Linked DNA regions of Homo sapiens: region 1 is linked to region 2. The links are contacts of gene promoters, found by promoter capture Hi-C in human tissues and cell types (Jung and others, 2019). All regions are on one chromosome and are shown on one strand. Each heading gives the region's core, a stretch centred on a gene start or on the middle of the fragment in contact. The rest is flanking DNA. Distances are from core to core; before and after follow the strand shown.

Evidence for each region. The method cuts DNA at HindIII sites, captures the fragments that hold promoters and counts their contacts. A contact is called where the count stands out against the background at its distance.
Region 1: a contact is called between a fragment that was not itself captured here and the fragment with the promoter of PRKAA2 in region 2, in 1 of the 25 tissues and cell types used here (bladder).

Annotation. Positions count from the first base shown.
Region 1 is chr1:56,683,649-56,691,162 of GRCh38, reverse strand. All of the region lies in intron 2 of PRKAA2 (protein kinase AMP-activated catalytic subunit alpha 2), which reads right to left. Among named protein-coding and RNA genes, the nearest start is that of PRKAA2, 42 kb to the right of the region's middle. The HindIII fragment of the contact is 6,820 bases long and covers 1,927-7,514 here.
Region 2 is chr1:56,641,687-56,648,391 of GRCh38, reverse strand. PRKAA2 (protein kinase AMP-activated catalytic subunit alpha 2) reads right to left here and starts at 3,078. Exons shown (of 9, transcript NM_006252.4): 1 at 2,911-3,078. The coding sequence starts at 3,004. It overlaps LOC101929935 (a long non-coding RNA gene), which reads left to right and starts at 3,074. Exons shown (of 3, transcript NR_135111.1): 1 at 3,074-3,174; 2 at 4,768-4,892. The HindIII fragment of the contact is 16,794 bases long and covers 1-6,705 here.

The sequences.
Region 1 (7,514 bases), core at 4,087-6,586, 41 kb before region 2:
TAATTTTTGAAATCTTTCCCTCTTCAACAACTAATTTTTCCATATAAACAAAAATTTGTTTACAGTAAAAGGAGATGAGGTATCACATATTTAAAGATAAACAGAAAATATACTTGGGCCAGACACTATGGCTCATGCCTGTAATCCCAGCACTTTGGAAGGCCAAGGTGGGAGAATCACTTGAGCTCAGGGCAATGTTTTGGGGAATTGACAGCAAAACAAACTAAAACAGAACATACATGAAAGTGCTAAGAAAAGAAAATAACTGATCTTCAACATGATTTTATGGAACCGATTTTGAAAAGCATAGGCTTCATGTTGGCAATTAAGTGGAATATATCTTCTAAAGTCAGTATTTTACCAGCCTGGGCAACATAGCAAGACCTCATTTCTGTAAAACATACATATATTTTCCTGGACACGTAACATGATACTACAGGGATACATTCAGCAAAATCCAGGAAGTGAAAAATGACCATTTCCTCAACAAATAAAATGCAAGAAAAAAAGGGAAAGGATAAACTATACGTTAAAAGTAACTTAAGAGACATATTGACCAATTATGCTGTATAGACTTATTTTGATTCTGATTCAAATAAACCAACTTTAAAAACCATTTATGAAACAATCAGGAAAGTCTACATGCTGATTAGTGGTGGATAATGTTGTTAATTATTTTAATTAAGATGTGATAGGCCGGGCGTGGTGGCTCACGCCTGTAATCCCAGCACTTTGGGAGGCCGAGGCGGACAGATCACAAGGTCAGGAGATTGAGACCATCCTGGCTAAACCAAACACGGTGAAACCCCGTCTCTACTAAAAATACAAAAAATTAGCTGGGCATGGTGGCGGGCACCTGTAGTCCCAGCTACTCGGGAGGCTGAGGCAGGAGAATGGCGTGAACCCGGGAGGCAGAGCTTGCGGTGAGCCAAGATCGTGCCACTGCACTCCAGCATGGGCAACAGAGCGAGACTCCGCTTCAAAAAAAAAAAAAAAAAGATGTGATGATACTATGCTTATGTTATTTAGAGTTTAAAAAAGTATTTTCTAGAGTAGATACTGAAGAGTTTACAGATTAAAAAGATAATGTTGAGATTTGCTTCAAAATAATCTGGCGTAGATAAAACAATGAATTGACTACTGTTGAAGGTGAATAAGACATGCATGGGGTTTCACCGCGTTACTTTTGTAAATGTTAAACAATTCCCATCATGAAAAATTAAGAGTGTGTGTGTGTGTGTGTGTGTGTGTGTGTGTGTGTGTGTCTGTGTGTCTGTGTTTCTAGGCATCCAAAGCTGGGCACATTAAAAACTAAGAAAAAAAATTAGCTTTATTTGATAAAATAAATTTTTTTCCCAAAAACTACAACTTACACCCCTATACACAATTTTACCAAACCAAGTTTTGGAGACGTTAAAATTAGTTACTTTTTTTCTTTTGTTTGAGACAGAGTCTTGCTCTGCCACTCAGGCTGGAGTGCAGCGGCCATGCTCTCGGCTCACTGCGCACCCCACCTCCTGGGTTCAAGAAATTCTCCTGCCTCAACCTCCCGAGTAGCTGGGACTACAGGCATGCACCACCATGCCCGGCTAATTTTTGTATTTTTAGTAGAGAGGGGGGTTTCACCATGTTGGCCAGGCTGGTCTCGAACTCCTGACCTCAAGTGATCTGCCCGCCTTGGCCTCCCAAAATGCTGGGATTACAGGCATGAGCCACCAAGCCTGGCCAGAAGAAATATTTTGAATGGCAATCATTAGTCTTTGGGAAGAAACATGGCAAGGTATTCTAATTTATATAAAATAAACGAATATGACTGAAGAAGAATTGAGACTATTTCAAATGAACTTTGGAAAGGTAATTATACTGAGAACTCTAGAAGAAATAGTTTTATAAAAGCTATCTTTACAAGCACCAAAGTGATCACGTAAACTGAATACTGTAGGGCAGGTGCATCTGCTGTAGCACCTCACTGTAGGTTGGTCTGATTTAGTAACAATTTTCAATCACTTTTGTGCTCTGTACATCCTAGATGGGGCACAAAAGAAAAGAAGTGATGACATTCTAATAAATAAATTTAGCTGCCATTTCTGAGTATATCACAGGTCTTCAACAGATATTCTTGGAATTAATTATTTCATGAAACCTCTAAATCCTTAGCAGCCACTGTCTTACACTAAAGGCCAGTCTAGAGCAATGAAAATCATAACGTTACTAAGCACTTACTGTCTGCCAGGCACTAAGCTATTAAATGGTGACACAACATTTATTGAGTACCTACTTGTATTGTACTCGGTGAGATCAAAAGTTGGTGCCTCTACTCGTGGAGCTTACAGTTTAGCCAGAAAGACAGACATTAAATAAAGATTCTCTTCAAACACAAATATGATCTCCAGTAGCCTCTCAATTTAGAATCTTCAAAGGTTTCCCATTGCTCTTAGGTCCTGAATAAATCAGGCCCTTGCCATCTCTGTTGTTTGGTCTCACCTTTGAGTCACAACACTGAGTCATACTACATTTTTCAGTGTTAGTCATGCTGTACCTCCTCCTGCTACAGCTCCTTTGTATAAGCTGTTTTCACTGACCTGAATCCTATACTATGACCTGAGTGAGCCCTAATCATCCTTTAGATCTCAGCTTAAAAGTCACTTCCTAAGTCCAGGTGAGGTGCCTTTTTGCACTCACAGATGCGTTTTCCTGAGCTTCAGACCACGCATCTCAGTTTGTAATTATATGTTTTTATTATTACAATAATTTGATTAATGAATATGTATTTAGTAAAGTGCCTATAACAAAGTAGGTATTTAAGTAAATGTATAAATTAGCACTTTTAAATAACGTGAGTGCTTAGAGCCAAAACCAGAGTAATCTGAAACTGAAAAATCATAGCAAAATTACAGCAAAACTTCAACCAATAAAATTTCCCTTTGTCCCCCACCCCTAACCACAATGGGGTAGGGACAAAGGGAAACAAATTTCAGAAGGAAGACGTCTTAAAAAGACAGTTTTACATTAAGGATTTAGTGGAAAAGGCAAATTCCAGGATTACATTCTAAGCCTGGCCTGAGTAAGTCAAATCTCTTGTGCTGTCTAAAATACAAGTATATTGAAGCATTACAAGAAATTCAATCATGAATCACTCATACTTCTCAGTATTATTTTCCTAGTACAGCAGAGAAATAAACTAATGTAGTTTAAAAATTTTTCAGAAACAGCATTTCTAATTGGTAAAAATAAATTAATAATCCAGAAAAATCCTAAGCATTTTCCAGTTGACCAAGTTATACGCATTTTTAGGAAATAGCCACATAAAATAGTATATGAAAATCAAAAAAAATAGAAATCTTTCCAAAGTTAGCCAAAAATCAACATTCATGAGTACACCTTTTTGGTGGTAAAATCTATTGAGATTTTAGAATATTATTTATGTAGCTACATACACATAAGATTTTTCTTTAGTTAGAACTCAGTTACATAGAAATGTAGCAATCATGCTTGGTTGATGACACTTGTCTTCAGTAGTCCATGAATGACCTTTTATTTAATTACTATTTTTAATAATGTAATACCTACAAACCCATCACTCAGACAAAAAGGCCAAGACCTTGACAACAGCTTCCAACTAATTAATATAGGGATCCGCCTTCCCCATCCCATTGCTTCTCACCCAATGCAGCTGTCATCCTGAACACCCTGTTTATCCTTTCCTCCCCACCTCTTTTATACAGTTTATATATGTACATATGCATGTGTGTGTATCCCCTCTCTCTACATATGTATATTTCATATATATGAATAATTCAAATTCATATATATGTTAAACTGTTCTTTGCTTTAAAAACCAGGTATCACGCTCTATGTAATATTCTAGAAGTTATTTTATTGAGATTCAATCCTATTGTTGTGTTTGCTGTAGTTATTTGATTTGACCATTGTTATATCCTATTGTATTTATTCATCTACTCTACCACTAAAGAGTTTTGGCCAGGTGCGGTGGCTCATACCTGTAATCCCAGCACTTTGGGAGGCCGAGACAGGTGAATCACCTGAGGTCGAGAGTCTGAGACCAGCCTGACCAACATGGAGAAACCCCATGTCTACTAAAAATAAAAAATTAGCCAGGCGTGGTGGCACATGCCTGTAATCCCAGCTACTAGGGAGACTGAGGTACGAGAATCGCTTGAACCTGGGAGGTGGAGGTTGCGGTAAGCTGAGATCACGCCATTGCACTCCAGCCTGGGCAACAAGAGTGAAACTCTGTCTCAAAAAAAAAAAAAAAAAAGAGTATTTAGGTTGTTTCTATAATGTTGCTATTATTTGCTGCTGTGAACATTAATATGGTTTGTATGTTCATCCCCTCCAAATCTCATGTTGAAATGTGATTCCCAATGTTGAACATGGGGACTGGTGGGAGGTGATTGGATCATGGGGGTAGATCCATCCCTCATGAATGGTTTAGCACCATTGCCTCAGTAATAAGTGAATTCTTGCTCAGTTCATAAGAGAGCTGGTTGTTTAAAGGAGACTGGCTCTTCCTCCTTCCTCTCTTGCTCTCCCTCACCATGTGACACCCTGGCTGCCAGTTGCCTTCTGTCATGATTGTAAGCTTCCTGAGACCCTTACTAGAAGTAAAAGCCAGCACCATGTTTCCTGTACAGCCTGCAGAACTGTGGGCCAATTAAACCTCTTTTCTTTATAAATTACCCAGCCTTCAGTATTCCTTTATAGTAATGTAAAAATGGACTAACACGAACATTCTTCTACATGGCAAGATTTTCTCCTTGATATACACTGATGAGTGCAACTGCTGAGTCATAGTTATTGTGTATGTTCCAATTGAAAAGATAATACCAAAGACAGTTTTCCAAAGAAAGTTTGGCAATGCTAAAATCTTTAGAAAACTGGTGGATTTATATATTCTCCAACAGTTGCAAAACACCATATACATTTCTTCGTAGAAAATGCTGTGTCTTTTGCCCATGCTTATTGAGTTGACAGTACTTTTCTTATTTATGTATGGACATATAGAATAAGTCAAACTTTCTATAACATTCTAGAGTCTAAGGTAATTAATGTCTTGGTTATTAACTTTGTAAAAGTATATGTTTTCAGTCATCATTTCACATTGAATTTGGATTTCACTTCCTTTGTAAATAAATCTGTACATATCTCTAAAGGATAACTTAAAAATATATGTGTGTATGCACAATATGCAAAATATTGTTATCATGCATAAATTTAAAAAACCATGAATGTCATCAAATATCCAATCAGAAGATTTATTGATACAAACACAATCAATATATTGTAATTGGCTCATTTGTCTCTTATGTCTCTTCTAATTTATAGGTTGCTCCTCTATCTCTGTTGTTTTTTTCTTGCATTCTTTTGTGGAAGAAACCAGTTAGTTTGTTAAAGAGGATTCCACAGTATGAATTTTGTTGTTCCATCCTTTATAGCAGCAAAATGCACAATTTCTAACCCACTCTTAAATCTAGATACTTGATCAGATTTGTTTCATTTTTGCAATTTTTGTTTTCATTTGAAAGACTAAGTAGTGTAGTGTACCTCTAGCCAAAGGCATATAATGTGTCTCTTTTTCTGACACATTGGAAGCCACTGTTGATCAGAGCCTAGATGCATTAATTCACATTAATTTAATGAAATCTTAAATGCTGGCAAATTTGCATAGTCTAGTAATGAATGAATTCTGATCTAAAAGAAATTCTTACCCAAAACTTCCTCCCTCAAAAATCTCATTGTCTTTGAAGTGCAGGCCATCAGATAATACCTCCTCATACCTTTTCACATTATAGTCATCAATCAATCTTTTACTAACTCCTTCTCATTCTGAATTAATGTCTTTTTCCCCATTGCTACTACTGTCACTGTTTCAGGTGTAAGTGATATCTTTATAGATAATCTGTGATATAAACAGACATGTTAACATCATAGTGCTCTAGAGCTCAGTCCTTGGACTTCTTGTTTATCTGTACTCATATCTTTGGTAACCGCATCCAGTCTTAAGGCTTAAAATATCTTAACATATGGCCTTTAAGTTCTTTGAATGCCTCATTTCTAATTATCTTTTCTTCCACCACACACAGCCAACCACTCCATGGTCATATACTTTCAAAGACTAACTCCTCCAGTTATGCACTGGATTATCTCCCACACCTACGAAGGGACTTGGCTTCTATAATTAGCCCCTCTTTCTTTTGTATCAATTCCTTCCTCTTGACTGAATCACTCCTTTTGGCATACCAACATTCTACAATATCTCCCATTTTAAAAAGCTAACCTTGTTTAGACTCCTCATTTCCTTCTGGTTACCACTCCTATGTCTCTCCTCTCCTGCCTATAGTTACTATCTCCCCTTTTTTATCTCATATTCCCTCTTAAACCCTTTACATCAGGTTTTTGCCCTCATCATTCCAATAAATTGGTTCTTTTCAAAGACAACAGCAACCTCCACGTTGCCAAATCCAACAGTCAATTCTCCGTTATCATCTTACTCAATATTCACCAGTAAAAGGGACAGTTGGTGATCTTTCCTAAAACACTTTCTTCTCTTGGCTTCAAGATACCCGATTCCCCTAATTTTCCTCCCACCTCACTGATCATTTTCATTCTCTTTTACTGGTTCCTCCTCATTTTTCAGACATGTTAGCATCATAGTGTTCTAGAGCCCAGTCCTTGGACTTCTTGTTTATCTTGGTGATTTCATCCAGTCTTAGGGCTTTAAATATCTTAAATACAGTCTGTCTGCTGATGGCTTCCAAATTTATCTCTCTAGCTTACACCTCTCCCCTGAACTCCAGATTCACTTATTCAACAGCCTACTTACATCTCTACTTGGATGTCTAATAAGCATTTCAACTTCATAAAACCAAAATTAAATTGTTGAAACCACCCCCCTAACATCCCACCTCAAACCTGTTCCTCCTACAATCTTCTCCACTTCAGTTACTGGCAACTCCATCCTTGTTTTTTCGCCGAGGCCAGATGCCTTGGCGTCATCCTTAACTTCTTTCCTCTCACAACTCACATTTTATCTGTTAGCAAATGCTGTTGACTCTATCTTGAAAGTACATACAAAACATGCTTACTTCTAAACACTACTACACTATGCTGTATTTCAAGCCAACATCATCTTTTACAGATCACTGCAATTGACTCCCAATTGGTTTCCCTGCTTCAACTCTTGCTCACCTACAGTCTAAATGTAAGTCAGATCACATCATACCACTAATCAAAGCCTTCCAATGGCTTCCCATCTTAGACAAGAGTAAAAGCCAAAGCCCTGACAATGGCCTATAATGCCCTTTATGTCTCTGACCTTATCTCTCACTCTAATCTTCCTAGATCATTCTGCTCCCTTGATCTCTGACCTGCAGGAATTTCTACTTTCCTTTGTATTTGCTCTTCCCTCTATGTGTAACATTCACCCACTTCAGATATCTACATGGCATATCCCCTCACCTCTTCACTGTCTAACATATGACATATAATAAGGG
Region 2 (6,705 bases), core at 1,829-4,328:
AATTAATGGCACATGCTATGTCATGCATGAATCTCAAAAGCATTGTTAAAGAAGCTCGACACAAAAGATGACATATTGAACGATCACGTTTATGAAGAAGAGCCTAGAAAAAGCAAATTTATACAGGCAGAAAACAGATTAGTGATTTCCTGGGACTGAGGGTAGAAATGAGATTAACTGTGAATGGGTATAAAGAATCTTACTGTGGTGTCCTCAAATGTCCTAAAACCTATCTATAATGATGGTTGCAACATTTGGCAAAATTAGTAAAAATCACTGAATTGTACACTTAGAATGGATGAATTTCATATATAAAATATACCTAAATAAGTTGTTTTCTTTTCTTTTCTTTTTTTTTTTTTGAGATGGAGTCTTGCTCTGCCGCCCAAGCTGGAGTGCAGTGATGCAATCTTGGCTCACTGCAACCTCTGCCTCTCGGGTCCAAGTGATTCTCCTGCCTCAGACTCCTCAGTAGCTGGGATTACAGGCGCCTACCACCACGCCTGGCTAATTTTTGTATTTTTAGTAGACATGGGGTTTCGCCATGTTGGCCAGGCTGGTCTCAAACTCCTGACCTCAATTGAACCGCCCGCCTCAGCCTCCCAAAGTGCTGGGATTACAGGTGTGAGCCACAGTGCCCAACCATAAAGCTGTTTTCTAACAAAAAAAAAAAACATGACTTTTTGTTTCGCTTGTCCCTTGAAGAATTATATGAGTAACAATTGTACTAATCCTAATCTTGGATAGGAAACCATGGTATCACTTTTGAGAGGATCTAACACAGTGTTAGGAAAACTCCTTCAACTGGTTGTTCATTGGACAGAGGTTCTCCAGGAAAAGAATTTCTCATAAATCAAAGTTCTTTCTGTTTATATTTTAAGAAGCCAGTGCCTGGAAACAATTCAAAAGTACATACAAGAGATTTAAGTTGTCTTTGGCAATGGACTGATTGATCTGATGAGTATTCTACTCTACATTCAGATTACAGTATATGAACTTAAAAAGACAAGCAAAAACTTTTAACACAATATGAAAGGACATAGGGTTAAGTTATATAACTTTGTGTGTACATGTCCAAATGTCAAAGGCGCTGTTTGCTTGAGCAACTGTATAATGTTGTAACACAATAGTCCTTAATAATAATACTAAATGACAAGTAACATTACAGGCATTAATCCAATCCCTGGATTGTCCTGTATTCATCTTAAATACATTCTAACTATCCACTCTACTTATAAGGTCTTTCAAAAATAACCCAGGACTTTATAACCCTCACAGGACAGCAAAGAATTTTACAAACTTTTTAGGTCTTTGCAAAAATACCACCTTGTCTGACCACCTTATTGAAAACTGCCAACCTCACAAGACTCTCTATCTTCCCTTCCCTGATTCGTTTTTCTCAATAAAATTAAACATACCTTTTACATATATATTCTGATTACTGTCTGCCTTCTCCTACTAGAAAGCTAAACAAAAAGATCTGTTTTTTCCTTGCTGTATCCTCATTGCCTAGAACAGTGCCTACCACGTTGCAGGTGCTCAGCGTTTTTTGAACACATGAATGAGTATTAAATATGTGCAAGAAAACAGGAGCTGATTCTTACCAAAGGAATGAAAAATGAGTCTCTTCTACTCATTCAACAGCCTTGACTTGGGGTTAAAATATGAATTTTACAAGGAAATAGAGACCTCAGAATAAAATTTCCAGACTGCCTACCCAGCATTTCTTCAGCAAAGAGAAAAAATAAAGGTCAATATTTCACTTATAATTCTGGATTTGCAACAAAGTATTTTTAATAAACAACTGTCTCTATTCTGGAGAGAAGGCAGGTTAATTAAATCACATGTGACTAATTAACAAAAAAGAAAACAAATGAAAGTTCCATACTTAACTATTCTTACTAGTTACTTAACTCGAATAAAGTATAACATTTCAAAAGCAGCCTGTTTTTCTACATTCAAAAGGGGATCCTATCTCCATGAAGACAGACCTTAGCAGAATATGCCTTAGCAGTCCTGACCTCCTCAGCCTCAAATCCTCCAAACACCAAGGAAACTTTTTCTCTCCCTTACCCTAGAAGTCTTCCCATAGCCATTTTACAAACACAAACACCTTCAGACCTCTCTGTTTTAATTAACCTCTGACCCAATCCAGCTGCATTCCAGCGTTAAACAACACCCCAGGAAGAAAGACTCACAACCTCTGGCCCCTGGAGCATCCCCCAAACAGTCACCCCCAACAACCGAGAGTCCTGGAACGTGAAGGAATCTGGGGATGGCAGGGACCTCCCAGCAAGACCAGAATTGGAGGACATCTTAGACTTCACTCTGGTACTGACCATTTCTGTGTGACCTTGGGCTTGTTACTACATCTCTAGGGGTCCTAGTTTTCTCACCTTTAGGGTGAGGACAACATGTTGACCAAGTCACTGTGAGGATTCAATGAGATTCCATGTAAAGCACCTAACAGGGCACCCGGCACGAAACGGCGCCTCAGTCCTCAGTAGCGTGGATGATCCCCGCCCTAAGCCTACAGGCTCAGAGCTGGAAGGCGCCTCGCAGAACGAGTCCAGTTCTCCCGATTTTGCAGAGGAGGACACTGAGGTCCAGAGAACACAGAAGTGCCTTGCTCCGACCTCCAGAAAGGCAGATGGGCGCGGAACCTGGAACCCAGGACGCCCATCCTCAGCTCACACCCCCGCCCTCTTCCCTGGACCCTGTGGGGCCCGGGCGCCGGTGCCAGGCGAGGCGGTGCGCGCCACCCTCCCGGGGCCCCAGCTCCGCGCGACCCGGGACCGCTCCACCTGCCGCCGAGCCCCGCGCCCGCCGGAGGCCCGGGGCTCCCGCCTCTCCCCTCGGCCTCCCGCAAGTCAGGCAGCCCCGCACAGCGGTCCGGAGCGCGTACTCAACTCTTCACTTTGCCGAAGGTGCCGACGCCCAGCGTGTCGCCCAGCACGTAGTGTCCGATCTTCACCCGCCCGTCGTGCTTCTGCTTCTCAGCCATCTTCGGCGCGCGCGGCCTCGCTCCACCGCCTGCCGCTCCGCGTAGCCGCCGCCGCCGCCGCCTACCCACAGTGCAGCGGGCCCTGCGGGCGAGGGGGCGGACCCCGAGCCGCGAGGGGCGCGGGGCGGGCGCGGGGTCCCGGGAGAGGGCGCTGGGCGCTTCGGGCCCAGGTGGGAAGCAACGGGCGAGCGGCGGGCGGGGCGGGGCCGAGGGAGGGAGCGCGAGGCGCCCGCTCCCGGGAGTGAGAGGCTCCTGCGGCGGAACCCGAAGCAGCGACAGCGGGGGCCGGGGACGCGGGGCGCTGGGCGGGAGTGCGGGAGGGGCTGCGCCAGATGCGCGGGGTCCGAGTGAGGGGCGGAGGCGACAGGTGCTGCGAGGGGGGTAGGCGAGGGTGCCGAGGGAGGCAGGAGGCCCTTTCTGAGGAAAACCGAAGGGGGTGAAAATAGGGGGTGAGACTGGGGCCCGATCCTAGGGAATGGAAAGACTTGGAAGTCAAACTGGAAGAAGAGACGGGCCTCGCATGTCGGGAGCGAGGGGCTGTAAAAGGGAAGAATCGGGAGGGGAGACTGCGGGAAGGGCCCTGGCCAAAGGGGCAGTGGCAGGAGAGCCTCTAGGAAGCTCCTCAAGTCTCGTCTGAGGCTTTTGGATACAGGTCGCGGCACAGGGAGAATGCACGCAGCTCTGTGCTCTCTTGAATTGTCCTCCTCTACTTATTCTGTAATTCCCAATTATTTTGTCCTATAGATGGAAGAGACCCTCTCCGCCAGAGCTCTCAATTTTAACTAATTTGCCCACAGTTTTCCAAAAAATCTCAGTCACGGTATTTGCTCGAGTGTTTTTTAGCACATGCTTATATAAATATGTAGTTTTACCACGCGCTTATATAAACATATAGTACCGAAATGTGATACAGCTGTACAAGAAGGAAATGGGAAAGACGTGGAAAGGGAAACAATGTTCTGCCCACAGAAAGTAAAATACGTAAGCGACAGAGGAATTGTGAAGGGCGAGGCCAGTATAAGGTCACATATTAAAGGAAGAATAAATGTGATATAGAAGTGAAAAGAGTGGTAAGAGGAAATTAGAAGCATGATGCCTAGGCAGCGTGTTCAAAGACTGACCTCCCCACCCTCCCCCACAAAAAAAAAGAAAAAAGACTGGCAAAGAATTAGGTAATAAAGCGATTATCTCTGCCTCTCTTCCTTCTCTCCCGCCCTTCCTTCCCTCCTTCCTTCCTTCCTTTAATGTTGTCTCATTCTTTAATGTTGTTCTGTCTTTCAGTGATTAAAGTTTATTTGCTTCTCACCACACACACAAAAAGATTCGTATACAATATGTTTGTTAATTAGCTTGACTTATAGCCATTCCACAATCAATATATTTCAAAACATATACATACTAAATATATACAATTTTTATTTGCCAATGAAATAAAAAATTTTAAAACAGTAAAAAAAAATTCTGTTTGGGGATAAGTAATTAAGGATTAGTCAAACATTTATAGCACTGCATGCCAGTAGAGTTTCAAGGTCACATTCCTCAAACATGAAGTCTCTTGAACACTGTTTATATGTAAATTGAAATGTATTGATCAAAAAGAATAGGACACAACAAAACTTTGTTTTCTGATAAGTACTAAATATAGAAATTTCAAACATTCATTCTCATCCAAACATCAAGACAATCTGATGAGAGATGATCACAGCTTATAAATTATAGATATCACAGCTGTTAAACAGAGGCTATTTTTGTTCATTCTTCAGATCATCTTTCTTGCTGACAAGTATCATCTAGGAATCACTCTACCTCGCTGGCAATTTTGAGAAAATAGCCAGTTATTTTTGTGCTGAACTTTCATCTGGTTAAGGGTCATTCCTTCAGTAGTCAAGTGAGTAAGAAAAGACCTATTCTGCTTTTGAGGTATGAGATGTATATGTCTTCTGCTCTAATATCCCGTTAAAAGATGTTGAAAAGTCTTCACTTGAAGTTAGATGATTGCTTTCTTGAAGCTACATAAAGACTAACTGTAAATTGAGATTTCAAAGCATTTCGTACTGTCTTAACTATTTGTTGATAAATACTGTAAGTTAAATTATTATATACTTCATAACTATGATTCTTACATAGCTACTGTGGACTACCTTATAGTTTTGTTACTATGTGAAACATCTATGATACTTTGTTGATTAAGAAGTTCATTTAAACACAATTATTTAATTGTCATAAAAGAAAGATTATTATTCCCATTTTATAGATGATAAAACTTAGTTTTTCCCTTTCTGATTTGCCCAGGGCTAAAAAGTGGCAGAGTCAGAACTCATATCCAGTTCTGACTTGTCCTTCAGTCTGCCTACTATACCGCAGCTGCCTATGCCAAAAGAAAGTATGGTGCTCTAAGAAAGTTAAAAATTGTCACAGTTGTGGTTCCATTTTCATATTTTTATTATTTCTTGGGCAGTCCAATAATATATCCTATAAATTTGTAAGTATTTAAACTACTTTTTGTTGTTTTTCTGACTTTTATTTAGAGGAAAGGTTGAATGGTAAGTGGGTAAGAAGGACAACTCTTGGTGGCAGTACTCAGCCCTCTGTTGTCCTGGACACTTCAAGATAAGGTTCCATATTTGCCTCTTCCTATTCAGCAGTAGAAAACTCGACAGTTAATCAGAGTAGATCTCCTTAAGGGTCATGCCTCTTGGAGGTCTCACCCCTAAAGATGACCTGGTAAATGCAATGTTCCCATTTTATTATCTTCCAATGAAGGTTTCACGCCGCTATTGTTTAGTACCAATCTCTAAGACCAGTGCCCCAGGGAGGTGTTCAGTTCTTAGCGCTGGTCCAACTATTGCTGCTTTACCCTCCTGCTTCTGAAACTTTGGGGTTGTTTTACCTTCAAATATTCTAAAATAAGTCCTGAGTAGGACATTAATGCAAGACCACTAAACTAATATACTGTACTAGACACCATTGGTATTATCAGTAACCAATTATTTCAAGTCTTTGCTCACAGTCACCTTCTTGGTGAACCCTACCCTGGCCACCCTATTTAAGTTGCAGTTTCTTTTTTTTTTTTTTTTTTGTAATTTTTTTTAAATTTTTTTTTTTTTTTTTTTTTTTTTTTAGAAGCAGGGTCTCGCCATGTTACCCAGGCTGGTCTCAAACTCCTGGACTCAAGTGATTGTCCTGCCTCAGCCTCTCAAAGTACTGAGATTATGGGCGTGAGCCACCGCACCAGGCCTAAATTGCAGTTTTATCTCACTCATGCTCTCTGCCCTGCACTCTCATCCCCTGACCCTCCTCAACTTTTTTACATAGCACTAGCCATGTAACATACTATTTAATTTATGTGCTTATTATATTTTTGTCTGTTTCTCCCAATTAGAATCTAAACTTCACAAAAGAAGAGAGGCCTTTTTTCTCTATTTTGTTCACTGATGTATCCTTAGCTCCCGGGACAATGCCTGACAAAATATAGATATCCAAGCAGATTCAGAATGTGGCACCTGAAGTTTATTCAGTGTGGGGGAATCTCTTTAAGGGAAAAAAAAAATGCAAAATTGGGTATGAAAGTGAGAATTTGAAGTGAAAAACAACTCTCTACAAATTTATAAAAGCTGACAAATGCCACAAACATCCCCAAATCCAGACAAATAACAATATTTTTATAAATTAATTATCTAACATACCTCTATAATACCTGT